2 separate regions of the Homo sapiens genome follow, and region 2 is linked to region 1. Evidence: promoter capture Hi-C in human tissues and cell types (Jung and others, 2019). All regions are on one chromosome and are shown on one strand. Each heading gives the region's core, a stretch centred on a gene start or on the middle of the fragment in contact. The rest is flanking DNA. Distances are from core to core; before and after follow the strand shown.

Region 1 (7,020 bases), core at 1,662-4,161:
CTCACGTGTCCGTGTGAAGAGACCACCAAACAGGCTTCGTGTGAGCAACAAGGCTGTTTATTTCACCTGGGTGCAGGTGGGCTGAGTTTGAAAAGAGAGTCAGCAGCGGGTGGTGGGATTATCGTCAGTTCTTATAGGTTTTGGGATAGGCGGTGGAGTCAGGAACAATGTTTTGCGGGCAGAGGATGGATCTCACAAAGTACATTTTCAAGGGTGGGGAGAATTACAAAGAACCTTCTTAAGGGTGGGGGAGATTACAAAGTAAATTGATCAGGTAGGGTGGGGCAGAAACAAATCACAATGGTGGAATGTCATCAGTTAAGGCTATTTTCACATCTTTTGTGGATCTTCAGTTGCTTCATGCCATCTGGATGTATACGTGCAGGTCACAGGGGATATGATGGCTTAGCTTAGGCTCAGAGGCCTGACAGCTAAGGTGACTGAGCTGCAGCTCGGTTTTACATGTTTTACGGAGAAATAAGACATCAATCAATACATGACATAAGGTATTGGTTGGGTCAGGAAAGGTGGGACAACTCGAAGCTGGAAAGAGCTTCTACATCATAGGGTGGATTTAATAGGTGATTGGTGTTATGCCACGACTACGCCAATTGTCAGGTTCCAGCCCCCAGCTGAGGTCCAAGGGGAGTGGGTGGATGGGCGAATAACTGAAAGAACACAAGGAGGGTTGGGGGCGTGTAGGCAAGTGAAATGTAGTTTTATTCAGCGGCTGTGTCATCAGCAGCTTAATCACACTAGCTCTCTCACACTGTCCACCTTTATCTCGGCTGTCTGTTCTGGCTCTGTGGCTCCTGTTGCCCCCATGCCTGCAGCTGCACACCCTGGCCTGCAAAGCCAGCTCTGTCAGGGTCAGCAGCTTAACTCTCCCTCTGGGCACAAGCTGGTTCCTGGCTCGGCTCCCCTCTGCCCACCTTAAGGGCAACCGCTCTCCCTTAGAGGGGTTAGTAGCATTACTCTGGGCACCAGTGCACGAACCGGGTCGTGTCGTGCTGAACTCAGACCTGGGCACAGTGTCAGCAGGGCAGTTATACCTTCTACAGACAATAGTGGCTCAGATCCAAGTATGAACTTACATAAACGGGTTACATAACAAGTGGAATATGCGCCTGTGTCCTAAACTCGCTGAGCCACTCTGGCCCGGATGTCCACCTTGGCCTATTCCTTGACCAAAGCACATCCATATACCCTACAATTGGCAATTGGTTAAAAGAGTTATTATATAAAGACCTGGAGCCAATAGAAGGCAGTGTCTGGGTTGAGATAAGAGGTTGCAGAGACCAGGGTTCTTGTTCTGCAGATGAAGCCTCTATGTAGCAGGTTTCAGAGAGAATAGATTGTAAATGTTTCTTATCAGACTTAAAACAGGTGTCAGGTTCTCAGTTAATTCTCTCCAGCATCAGGGAAAAGACCTGGAAAGACAAGGGGATTCTTTACAGAATGTAGATTCCCCCCAGAAGAGATAGCTCTGCAAGGCCATTTCAAAATATGTCAAATAAATATATTTGGCCAGGCACGGTGGCTCACACCTGTAATCCCAGCACTTTGGGAGGCCAAGGCGGGTGGATCACCTGAGGTCAGGAGTTCAAGATGAGCTTGGCCAACACAGTGAAACCCTGTCTCTACTAAAAATACAAAAATTAGCTGGTGTGGTGGCACACGCCTGTAATCCCAGCTACTTGGGAGGCTGAGGCAGGAGAATCACTTGAACCCAGGAGGTGGAGGTTGCAGTGAGCCGAGATTGCGCCACTGCCCTCTAGTCTGTGTGATGCAGCGAGACTGTCTCAAAAAAAATATATATATATATACGTATATGAGTATATATGTATACATAAGAGTATATGTGTGTGTGTGTTTGTCTATGTGTGTGTATATATATATCAGGATAAAATACTTCAATGTCTTTTGGGGCCTGCTGCCATGTTGGTATCTTATTGCTGCAAAAAAGTCTGTTTTGTCAGTCTTAAGGTCTCTGTTTAATGTTAACGCTGGTCAGCTGTGCCTGTATTCCAACGGGAGGAGGGTATAATGAGGCCTGTCCCACCCCATCTTCCCATCATTGCCTGAGCTAGTTCTTCAGGTTAACTTTGGCGTGCCTTTGGCCCAGAGGAGGGATCCACTCAGTTGGTAGGGGGGCTTGGAACTTTTATTTTTAGTTTACACAATCAACTTGAGATCAGAGTGTCTCATCTGTTTCCTCCATCTCCAAAAAGGAAGGTAATTCACAGCCTTCTCTTTTCTAAATGGTGAGGACCCCGGGGCCCCTGCTTCTGAGGCGTTGGTTATCCAGACTATGCCACCATGTCTACCTGAGCTCCCAGAAGAAGCCAGAAAGAAAAGAATGGAAGGAAACAGAAGGACAGTGGGAACGGGAAGAGAAGAAATGACGAGGTCTCAGTTCTCCACACTCTAGCCTCAGCACCCACTTAAGATTGAAGAGTAGTCCCTCACGGGCTCCCACTTCGGACTCTGGCCAATAGGAACTGAGACTCTTAACCAATCAGCGCTTTGCGTTTTTCCAGCGTTCTGCGTGCTGCCATGGAGATGGAATGAGCAAATCCAAACATAGAGGGATGGTGGGCCGACCACTATGACTGTTACTCCAGCACTTCCCGCCCCAGTCTCTGGCCTGTGGGCTCGTCCAAAGGCAGGGCGTGATGCCCTTTGGGTGGAGGGAGGGGCCCTCGTGGTCTCTCACTTCCGGGCCCCAGCCAACAGGAACGGAAACTGCACAGCCAGTCGGCTTCCTGAGCTTCTTCCGGCGTTCTGTGTGCTGCCGTGGAAACCGTATGGACGAATCCAAACCTGGAGGGGCGTCGCCTCCGTAAGGCTGGTCGGCTTCTTCCGCGCGTTCCGCTTTGCTTCACTGCTTTCTCCCCCATTCTTGGGCCTGTGGACCTGTCCTGAGGCAGAGGCCGAGATGCGCGCAACCGCGGGAGCAGCCAAGTGGACTGGACTCTTTTCTTGACTTAGCTACCAGGTGCGTGGCAGTGGCGGTTTTAGTAGCTACGAGTCTGAGTTCGTGTCTGCCTAAGCGGTCGCGGAAGAGCGCGCAGGCCTGCCGGGGCGGGTGGGTGGTGGCGCCTGGCCGCCCTCTCTCCTTCTGCCAGTGGACCCCGTACCCCCTGCGCTCCCCTGCTTTGCGCTCGTGTTAAAAAAGCCGCCCGTTTTTATCCGGGCGTTAGTTAAGGGCACACGGGACGCCTCTTCTAGGACCTGGGTGCAGCGGGGAGAGAGAGTGCTTGTGTGTTTCGGCTTGGGAGATGTGCTTTATGGACGCCATCTCTTAACTTCCCAGAGCGGACCGCGTCTTCACCGCCCTGCAGCGCTTCCTAGGCTCCCAGCCGGTCTCGCGGACTGATGCCTACGGACGTAGCGAGGCCGCGAAAGCCGCCGATTCGCCCGCCGCGAGTTGCCTGGGGAGCGGGGGGGGGGGGGGGGGGGGTGAGTGACTACGTAGCGCCCCTGAGTCTGTGATAATTGAGTCTGTGAAGTGCGGCGAGGAGGAGCACCTATGGAGTGCTTAGTGTGGCGCGCGCCATCGGTTACATCTCGGGGTTGATTTGGCTGGCATTTCGCAGACTTGAGCGCATCCCAGTCACCCCAGGGCGTGTAGTAACACAGAAGGCCAGGCCCTACCGCCGTAGTGTATGATTCCGTAAATTTGGGGCAGGGCCGATAACTTTTTCTTTTGTATTAAGTCCCAGGTGATGCTCATGCTTCTGGTGCGGGAGTCATGATTGTGCTGAAAGTGGGCACCTGTGCGCTCTTATCACCTGTTCGCTCTCAGCGTTCCTTGAATGTAGGACCTGCCCCCGACTCTTAAATGCCTCATTTGCACCTGTATGTGATTTGCTCTGCCTTCTGGCTTCTTAGATGCTTCTTAGGTGAACTTGTGAATTAAGAGAGACTTCCTTAGGAGCACTATAGGTTAAGAGACTAAACTGTGGTTTCTGGGAAAGCACACTCGAGTGAGAAAACCATGAAGAAACCTAAGGAAGTGATGACTACGAAAGTCAGGGGGTGGTTAACTTTTGGGGATCAGGAGGGGTGGTGATTGAGACAGGCTCACAGAGGGGCTGCTTGTGTGGCTGGCAAAGTCCTATTTCCTGACTTTGGGTGGTGATTAGAAGGGTGTCCCTCTTTAGTAATTCATTAAACTATGTATTCTGTGGAGTTTTCTGTACTTGTGTTTTATTTTATAATTAAGAGGTTACAGCTTTAAAAATGAATATTAGGAAGTCTGTAATGGGGAACGTGTTTGGACTGAGTCAAAGAATCTTAAAGTCATGGAATTTCAACTATTAATAAGTTATTGAAAGATAACTTAGTGCCAGGCGCGGTGGCTCACACCTGTAATCCTAGCACTTTGGAAGGCCGAGGCAGGCGGATCACTTGAGGCCAGGAGTTCTAGACCAGCCTGGGCAACATAGTGAAACTCCATATCTACCAAAAACACAAAAAATTAACTGGGTGTGGTGGTGTGCCAGAGGCTGAGGTGGCTACTCTGGAGGCTGAGGCACGAGAATCGTTTGAACCCTGGAGGTGGAGGTTGCAGTGAGCCTAGATCTTGCCCCTGCACACCAGCCTGGGCCACTGAGTGAGACCCTGTCCAAAAAAAAAAAAGAAAATCATTTGATCCAATTCTTATTTTACTCTAAGGAAACAGCCTTAGAGAGGAGAAATGCTTGAAAGTAACAAACCACCCTATCTAAGCAGATTTATAACTAATGTGTTTTGTTAATTTCAGACTGAAATTGTCCACATGTGACTTGATGGTCAGATGTGACTAAAGATTAAGGAAATGAATTTGGCCTAAATCAAATTCAAAATTTCAAGATGGGCTGGATGGTGGCTTGCACCTGTAATTCCAGAATTTTGGGAGGCTGAGGCAGGAGGATTGCTTGAGCCCAGGGGTTCAAGACCTAGCCTCCTTTAAAAAAAAAAAAAATCAAGATTTTACTTAATTTTTTCCCTTGTAGCCTAAAACCTTATTTTCAAGAAATCAGTTATACATACTGTATGAAAACTTATTTTATCATCTTATCCTGAGATATCCTAATGTAGACAATTTGTGAACACTTAAGGTTTCTGATTATATTTTTTCTGGCTTAGTAACTTCCCATCTTAACATACTGTCAGTTTAATCTTATTTTGGTTATAATACATACCATATAGCTGGGACTACAGGCATGCACCACCATGCCAGGCTATTTTATTTGTGTAGAGTCGGGATCTCACCATGTTGCCCAGGCTGGTCTTGAACTCTTGGCTTCAGACAATCCTGCCTCCACCTCCGAAAGCGTTGGGATTACAGACATGAGGCACTGTGCTAGGCCAGGATTGGTTCTTTTTAATGAATGGGTTTTAGAACGAAGAGGGATGTAAAAAGGACTTAGGGAAACCGTCATTAAAAGAAAGATACTAACCAGTGCCTTTTTGTTTTTAATTAATTAATTATTATTATTTTTTTTGATATGGAGTCTCTTGTCACCCAGGCTGGAGTGCAGTGGCGCAATCGGCTCACTGCAACCTGTGCCTCCTGGGTTCAAGCCATTCTCTTGCTTCAGCCTCCGGAATAGCTGGGATTACAGGCGCCCGCCACCATGCCTGGCTAATTTTTTTTTTTTTTGAGATGGAATCTTGTTCTGTTCCTCAGGCTGGAGTGCAGTGGCGCGATCTTGGCTCACTGCAGCCTCCGCCTCCCGGGTCCAAGCAATTCTCTGCCTCAGCCTCCCGAGTAGGTGGGACTACAGGCGCGTGCCACCATGCCTGGCTAATTTTTTGTATTTTTAGTAGAGATGGGGTTTCACTGTGTTAGCCAGGATGGTCTTGATCTCCTGACCTCAGGTGATCCACCCTCCTCGGCCCCCCAAAGTGCTGGGATTACAGGCGTAAGCCACTGCACCTGGCCTAATTTTTGTATTTTTAGTAGAGATGGGGTTTCGCCATGTTGGCCAGGCTGGTCTTGAACTCCTGACTTCAGGTGACCTACCTGCCTTGGCCTCCCAAATTGCTGGGATTATAGACGTGAGTCATTGCACCCTGCCCATAAATAAAAGTTTTAATGGAACTCAGCCATATCCATCCCTTTGCTTATTGTCTCTGGTTGCTTTTGTAGTTCAAGAGCAAAGGTGAGTAGCTGTGACAGAAACCATAAGGTCTGTAAAATCTAAAATGTTTACCCGCTAACATTTTGTAGAAAAAAGCTTTCCTCTCCTAGAACAATCTTGGATTTTTTTTTCATCTGTAAAATGAGTTTCCTTAATTTTTTTTTTTTTGAGACAGTTTCACTCTTGTCACCCAGGCTGGAGTGCAATGGTGCAATCTCAGTTCACTGCAACCTCCCTCTGCCTTCTGGGTTCAAGCCATTCGCCTACCTCACCTTCTTGAGTAGCTGGGATTACAGGTGCGCGCCACCATTCCTGGATAATTTTTTTTTTTTTTTGTATTTTTAGTAGAGATGAGGTTTCACCATGTTGGCCAGCCTGGTCCTGAACTTGTGACCTCAGGCGATCCGTCCGACTCGACCTCCCAAAGTGCTGGGATTACAGGCGTGAGCCACCGCATCTGCCAATATATTCACCAGTTTTGTTATTAATTTTTGAAGTCTTAAAAAATTTTTAATTGTAAAATACACATAAAATTTACCATCTTAACCCTTTTTAAGGGTACAAGTTTAGTAGAGCTTAAGAACAGTTACATTGTTGTGCACCAGTCTCTAAAACTTCATTTTTGCAAAAGCAAAATATATTACATTTTGCTTATCCATGTATCAGCGGACACAAGTTGCTTCCATGTTTTAACTATTGTGAATAATGCTGCTGTGAATATGTGGGGTACAAATATCTCTGAGACCCTGCTTTTAATTCTTTAATATACCCATATTGAGGTATGATCTACCAGTAATTGTATGTATTTGAGGTGTACAAGGTTTTTTTTTTTTTTTTTTGAGAAAGGGTCTCACTTCGTTGCCCAGGCTAGAGTGCAGTGGTGAGATCT
Region 2 (7,020 bases), core at 1,733-4,232, 1.4 Mb after region 1:
CTGCCCTTGAACATCAGACTCCAAGTTCTTCAGTTCTGGGACTCGACCTGGCTCTCCTTGCTCTTCAGCTTGCACATGGCCTATTGTGGGACCTCGTGATCGTGTGAGTTAGTACTTAATAAACTCATATATATATATAAAATAGTTTTGTCCCTCTAGAAAAACCTGACTACTAGTACACAAAGTATTCCATCCACCTGGCCTCGATGATGGGCTTAGAGGCGTGCAAGTCAGTCCAGTGGTTTGCAATTTTAAGATATCCTAGGACAAAAACAAGTTCTCCTCTTTCTGCTAGGGTAGTTTAGTTTGAAGACTTTAAGCCTGGAACTGCTGAGATCCACTGGGTTGACAGAGTCCACCTGAGAAGAAAGCACAATCAAGTGATGGGAAGACCTGATCATCCTAAAGATATTGCTTGAGTCCTCTGGGTCCAGTCCTACCTGAAGCCAAAGCTATGCCTGGACTCCAATTATATGTACTTTTGCTTTTGCTCTCATGCTCGCTCTCTCGCTCTCTCGCTCTCTCTCTCCCTCTCTCCCTCTCTCTTTCTCCCTCTCTCTCTCTCAGTTGAGCCCCTGCTCCACCACAAAGAAAGATCCTGAAATAAGGATTGATAGGCAAAGAGTTTATTTGAGAAGTAATATTAGAAAACACCAGTAAGGTAATTAGAAAGTGAGGGCAAGAGAAGGCAGCCAGTAAAGGGTGCATCATTGAGCAAGTAACTCCTAAAGAGCAACTTGGGGCCAGGCGCAGTGGCTCACGCCTGTAATCCCAGCACTTTGGGAGGCTGAGGCAGACGATTACTTGAGGCCAGGAGTTCGAGACCAGCCTGGCCAACATGGTAAAACCCCATCTCTTCTAAAAATACAAAGATTAACTGGGGGTGGTGGCGGGCACCTGTAATCCCAGCTACTCGGGAGGCCGAGGCAGGGGAATTGCTTGAACTCAGCAGGTGGAGGTTGCAGTGAGCTGAGATAGCACCATTGTGCTCCAGCCTGGGTGACAGATCAAGACTCTGTCTCTAAATAAATAAATAAATAAATAAATAAATATTAATTAATTAGTAAAAGGCAACTTAGGCTCAGTCCCTCTCGGGAACTCTGGGAGACCTTGTGGAGGACACATCTCAGAGCCACGCCATCCAAGAGGCAAAGGAGCTGGGGTATTCATCTCCCTCTCCTACCTATCCATATGTCAGGCTCTTCCCAGGGCTTCATTTTTGGACCCACTGTGAGAACGGACAAAGCAGACTCCTCAGGCAGAGTTGCAGGGGCTGGCAGTCAGCAGCCAAACTGGTGTGCACAGCATCAAGGAGGAATGGATGGGATATGTTTGCTTTGTATTGTTTGGGGTTTTTTTTGTAGGACTTGGATGACTAAACTAGGCTTTCTGCCATTTTCAAAGGAAAAGCATCCTGATTAATATTAATATATGTAAAACTTCCACTCAATGAGAGGTCGTCCTATTTAACCCTAGAATGTTTCTGGGATAAAATATCCATGGATTGCTTCCTAAATCTACTCCCATCCCAGATATGACACCATCGTGGTACAGGAAAAACCTCCACCAATATCTTTTGTGCCCTGCACCCACACTGATCACAGCCAGCTTGATCATCATTGAGACCCCCTAGACTGGTAGAAGCAGCCAACCCTGAAGCTTTCCAGAGTCAGTGGGTACTCCAGGAAACCAGCATCACCTTTATAGCTTCCTGCTCCATTTAATGTCCTGTGACCCAGTCACTGCTCTAAGCTAGGGTAACCACCTGCAGTAACCACAGTGGGCTACCAGCATGCTCAGAGGGCTCTTGGTAGCTGCCCAGAGCTCATATCTTCAATATGCCTCAGAAGAGGCAGAAACCTCCTGCCAAGGGAGCCAGGGAAACACTGGCCCCCAATCCTCCTATGGCAAAGGTCTGAGGGGCAGGGGCCAGGAATCCAAGCTGTAGCCATAACAATTCTCTCCCTCCCACCAGAGAAGGATGCCTGGGACAGAGGGAGGAAGTGCAGTACATGTGTCGTCTCCTACAAGTTTGCTGCAAGGTGATAAATATCTTTTGTTTCTATTGTGAATGAGATCTTTCTTTTCCATTATTTTTTTCTAAGTGGCTACTGTTGGAAATAGGAAAGCTATTGATTTTTGTACGTTTATTTTGTAACTTGCTACCTTACTGAACTCTCATTATTTCTAATAATTTTTCAGGTCAATTCTCCCAAAGGAAAAAAAAAGTTTAGGCGATGTGACAAAACTCATAAAAATGCATGAAATCAGCCACCACCATTCAATTTGTTCTAAGATGTGTATAAAATCAAGGTAGAAATAAAATTCCACCTGTGCTACATGCAAACCATCTGTTCCCACCCACTCCACTGTCCTCCACCGAAAGGCTACTCCCCTGTGTTGAGAGGAAAGTCTTTGAGATCCAAACACAGAAAAGTCCTTTGCTGGAGTCAAATGGCCAAACTTCCCCCATTCCTAGACTGTCAGGACCAGAGTGGATTCCCAAGCTGTGAGGAGAAGCCCAGGACAGAGGCTAGCTCTCTAAAACCTGACCCCAGCGTGCTATCCATCACTCCAGCCCCCTGCAGGCATCCAGTCACCCACTCTACCAGAAGTCTTCAAGCCTAACTGAGCACCTACTGTGTGCCAGGTTTGGGAATGCAAGAATACAAAAGGTCTAGTCCCTTCTTCAGACAACTTTCAAACACAGAACCTTCCCACAGATGTGCCAAATTTTGTTTTATCGGAATAAGCCTAGACAGTCTTCGATATACCCTTTATTATTGACTTTTCTTTGTGGGATGTGGCAACACAGTCAACACTCTACCCAGACACCCACTAAGTCCTTTTACAGTTGCTGTGTGTTGCTCTCCTGGCCTCTGTGGGATCTTGTTTCTGCTGCCTACACCTGCAACTCCTGTTAGAGGACTGCCCTCAGGTGGCTAGAGCTAGTTTGCCCACACCTGCAGAGATTGGAAATGCCTGGGAGCCAACATCCCCGCAAGGCAGCCCCAGGCCAGTGATTGACAGATGCAGGTGCGTCAGATTCCAAGATGTAACTCACACTTCAGAGCTCCCCTGAAGGATCAGGAGGAAGCTACCCCTGCAGGACTTCACTCTATCTCTCCCCCCGCCCTGCCTCGACTCCCTTACCAATCTCCCAAGGAGCGCTTCCTCAATGCATCACTTTCTCATAAGTCTTCCTCTCAGGAAGACACAGAGCAAACCTCTGACCTCCATTGCTATAGTTTTCCATCTGTCAGGTCAGCATAATTAGAAAGTCTCCTGAGAAAAAGATTAGAGTTCTATTATGAGTTAAATTGTGTTCCCCCAAAATTCATATGTTAAAGTCCTAATCCCTCAATGTGATTATATTTGGAGACAGAGCCCATAAGGAAGTAATTAAGGCAAGGTGGGGTCACAAGGAAGGGACCCCGATCCAATAGGATTAGTGTTCTTATAAGGAAAGACACCAACAGCTCACATGCTGGCTTGTGTTCTCTCTCTCTCTCTCTTTCTCTCTGTCTCTCTCTCTCTCTCTCTCTCTGCATGCACAAAGAAGAGGCCATGTGAGGAAGGACACAGCAAGATGGTGTCCACTACAAGCCAAGAGAAAAGGCCACAGGATGAAACCTACCTTGCCAGTACCTTGATCATGGGCTTTTGGCCTCCATAGTTGTGAGAAATAAATGTCAGTTGTTTAAGCCATCCAGTCGATGAATTTTATAAGGCAGCCCAAGCTAATACAGATTCCTTCACCTGCTCTATGGCTTGGATCCTGGAAGAGCCTCCTCAGTTGTATTCAAGTCACCAAGATCTTGTTCCACAAAATAAAATTCCTGTGGCTCTGAGGACAAGTCTGCCTCACCCTATGAAAGATAAAATAAAATTGAAGCCATAGACCAGATGTTGGCAAACTTTTCCTGTAAAGGGCCAGGTAGTAAATATCTTAGGCTATGCAGGTACATGGTCTCTGTGGTAACTACTCAATTCTGCATTGTAGTGCAAAAGCAGCCACAGACCTGATTTGTAAACGAATGAGTGTGGCTGGGTTCCAATAAAACTTTATTTAGAAAAGCAGACCTCTGAGGCCTGTAGGTATGTTGAGCTGTGAACATGGGTCTCTGTTCTACAGGAGGGGTTTGCTAAAGTTGTCAAAAACAAGGCCTGCTTTAAGAGAAACCAAGTGAAATTCAGAAAATGATAGAAGCGTAAAAACTGAAGATTATACTTGGAAACGCTTGGTGATACTGTATAAAAATAAGTACAACACACCCAAATACAGGATGATAGTTTGGTGACAAACAGAGATATCATTTGTCAGATTGCTTATGCCTGTATAGGAGGGGATATGATAGTCTGCACAGCTTAAGCATATGAACTGCCAAAATATGGTGTGAAGGTTGGCCTGACACATTATGCTACAGCATATTGTACTGGCTTGCTGCTGGCCTGCAGGCTTCTCAGTAAGTCTGGCATGGTCAAGATTTATGAAGGCCAAGTGGAGGTGACCAGAGATGAACACAACGTGGAAAACATTGATGGTCAGCTGGGTGATTTTACCTGCTATTTGAAGGCAGGCCTTGCCAGAACCACCACTAGTAATAAAGTTTTGGGGGCTCTGAAGGGGGCTGTGAATGGAGGCCTCTCCATCTCTCACAGTACACAATAACAGATTCCCTGCTTATGATTCTGAAAGCAAGGCATCTAATGCAGAAGTACATAGGAAGCACATCATGGGTCAGAATGTTGCAGATTACATGCATTACCTAATGGAAGAAGCTGAAGATCTTACAAGAAACAGTTTTCTCAATACATAAAGAACAGCATAACTCCATACATGATGGAGGAGATGTGTAAGAAAGCCCACGTTGCTATATGAGAGAATCCAGGTTATGAAAAGAAGCCCAAGAAAGAAGCTAAAGAGAAAAAGTGGAATTGTCCCAAAACGTCTCTTGCCCAGAAGAAACACTGGGTAGCTCAAAAGAAGGCAAGCTTCATCAGAGCTTGAGAACAGGCTGCTGAGAGCTAAACCAAGAAATTTTCTATGAGAATTTTTCAGATAAAGACAATAAATTTATTGACTAAGCTGCTAAAAGAGAAAAAGAAGGAAAGAAAAGCAGACTTCTCCAGGCAATTGTTTCCTGACCCCTACTACAAACTCTTTGACTTGGAAGGGAGTTGAGCAAACCTCAAATCCACCCCAGATTGTGAAGACAAGGACAAGCGCAGATGGTGGATGGGACTCCCCAGGGTCTCCCAGGGAGTTCATGGCAGTCAGACTAGAAATGGATACCTCTTCTCCTCGTTTCTCTTCTGTTGTTCAGAACTAAAGCTTAAGCGGGTGGGGCTGAATCGTAAAGGCTTCTGTGAATGTTGGTAATAGAGGGTGAAATGATGCTGCAGGAGGGGAAGGGAAGGACAAAAGTCAGCAAAAAGCCAGGTATTGAGACAGCCATCACCTGAGGATCTGCCTCCCAATGGGCAAGTCTGCCCCTCAAAGACTATGAGGCAGTGATGATACTGACCCCTGAACTCCAGGACCCCATTGTTCTTCAAAGGAAGATGCAAGGCTGGCCCCTCCCCCAGCTGCTGAAGACCATGCTGAGGGGCCCAAGGGAAGAGGAGGCCAGTGGCTGAGCATTGTAGAGCAGTGGGTAGGGAGGGACCTTTGGTCTGCACCAACAATGTGACTGTAACGCTCACTTGCACAAGTGTGACTCAATTCATGCTCTCATGAAACTGTGCTTTAGGCATGAAGCTGGGGGCCTATTTTGAGACATCAGCTGCACAAACTTTAACCTGTGGCTTTATACTGAGAGAGGTAGTGTAGGGCTTGCAGCCTCTGGTCCCAGGAGAAGATAAAGGAGACTCGAGCAGTTGTCAGAACCTATGGTGCTCTCTCTCTCTCTCGTTACCTCTCGCTCTCTCTTGCTCTCTGTCTCCATTTGTTGCCACAGACCACCGGGCTCAGATGAGAGTCTCTCAACAGATGCAGGGAAGAGAGCAGCTGTTCACGGCAGTGGCCCTCCTAGTGCTTTGAGACTCCTCACAGCCCCACAAGGTTCCTTTGGGCCCTCTCAGAAGTCTGGCCACCCAGCATGAAAATCTCCCAAGTCAGAGCCTCAAGTTTTAAAGAAAGAAATTTACAGATGTGCAAAGAGAAAAGAAAAGGGGCTGTTTGGTCCCTAGCAGAGGACCGATTTTATTGGGAATTGTTTGACCAAGGAAACATGAACCAAACATACCACCAAGGAAAACATACTGCCAAGGAAAAATGAACCAAACATACCACCAGCACCCTAGAAACAGACTTTTTTTAATCTTCGTATCAACAAGATTTCGGCCTTCAATCATCTCAAATTAAATGGAACCTAAGCAGCAGGAGTTACTGTAGTTACGTAGGGGAAAGACAGGAGACAGGGGAAAAAAAAAGCTTTGCATCACGTGACTTTTATGCTGCAGAAACTTAATGAGAAACACACCACATTTCCAGAACCCTCTTTCTAGTCAGGGCTCCCGCTGAGATAAAAGGTCACAAGAAGAGAAGGAGGGAGAGGGAGGGAGCGCCGGCGTGGAGCAGGGAGGCACTTTTACTGCAAAGTCGGGCCCAAATTTCATACAAGCTGCTATCGGGTCTGATAGTCTAGACTGATTATCTTCTTTGAATGCCAGATGTGAAGGGCTTGTATAAAAGAACTGCAAACATTACCCATTTAAAAACAAATCGACCCAAGCTGCATTCACTGCGCAAAGGAGAACTTTCCATCCCAGACTCTGCAGAGAGAGCCAAGCAGCCGGGCCAGGAGACCTGGCCTAGGCGGTGCGTCCCGCTGCTGCCCCCTGCAGGCCATGAGCCTCAGGCTGGCCAGAAAGCAAGCCAAGTCCGGGGGCCAATGGCTCAGCCAGGCCTCTGCTCATCAGTGGAGACTTTTTCTGTCCATCCAGCTCAGGGTGGCAGGAGAATGCTCCTCTACAAGGTGCCAGGCTATAGCTGGAAGACTGAGCTGGGCCTGGGCC

What was found. The method cuts DNA at HindIII sites, captures the fragments that hold promoters and counts their contacts. A contact is called where the count stands out against the background at its distance.
Region 2: a fragment that was not itself captured here is called in contact with the fragment with the promoter of ULK4 in region 1 in 1 of the 25 tissues and cell types used here (dorsolateral prefrontal cortex).

The regions. Positions count from the first base shown.
Region 1 is chr3:41,957,994-41,965,013 of GRCh38, reverse strand. ULK4 (unc-51 like kinase 4) reads left to right here and starts at 2,911. Exons shown (of 37, transcript NM_017886.4): 1 at 2,911-2,998. RefSeq lists enhancers at 2,582-2,631, 2,782-2,941. The HindIII fragment of the contact is 18,707 bases long and covers 1-7,020 here.
Region 2 is chr3:40,584,547-40,591,566 of GRCh38, reverse strand. It overlaps the pseudogene RPL5P10. Among named protein-coding and RNA genes, the nearest start is that of ZNF621, 63 kb to the right of the region's middle. The HindIII fragment of the contact is 5,809 bases long and covers 78-5,886 here.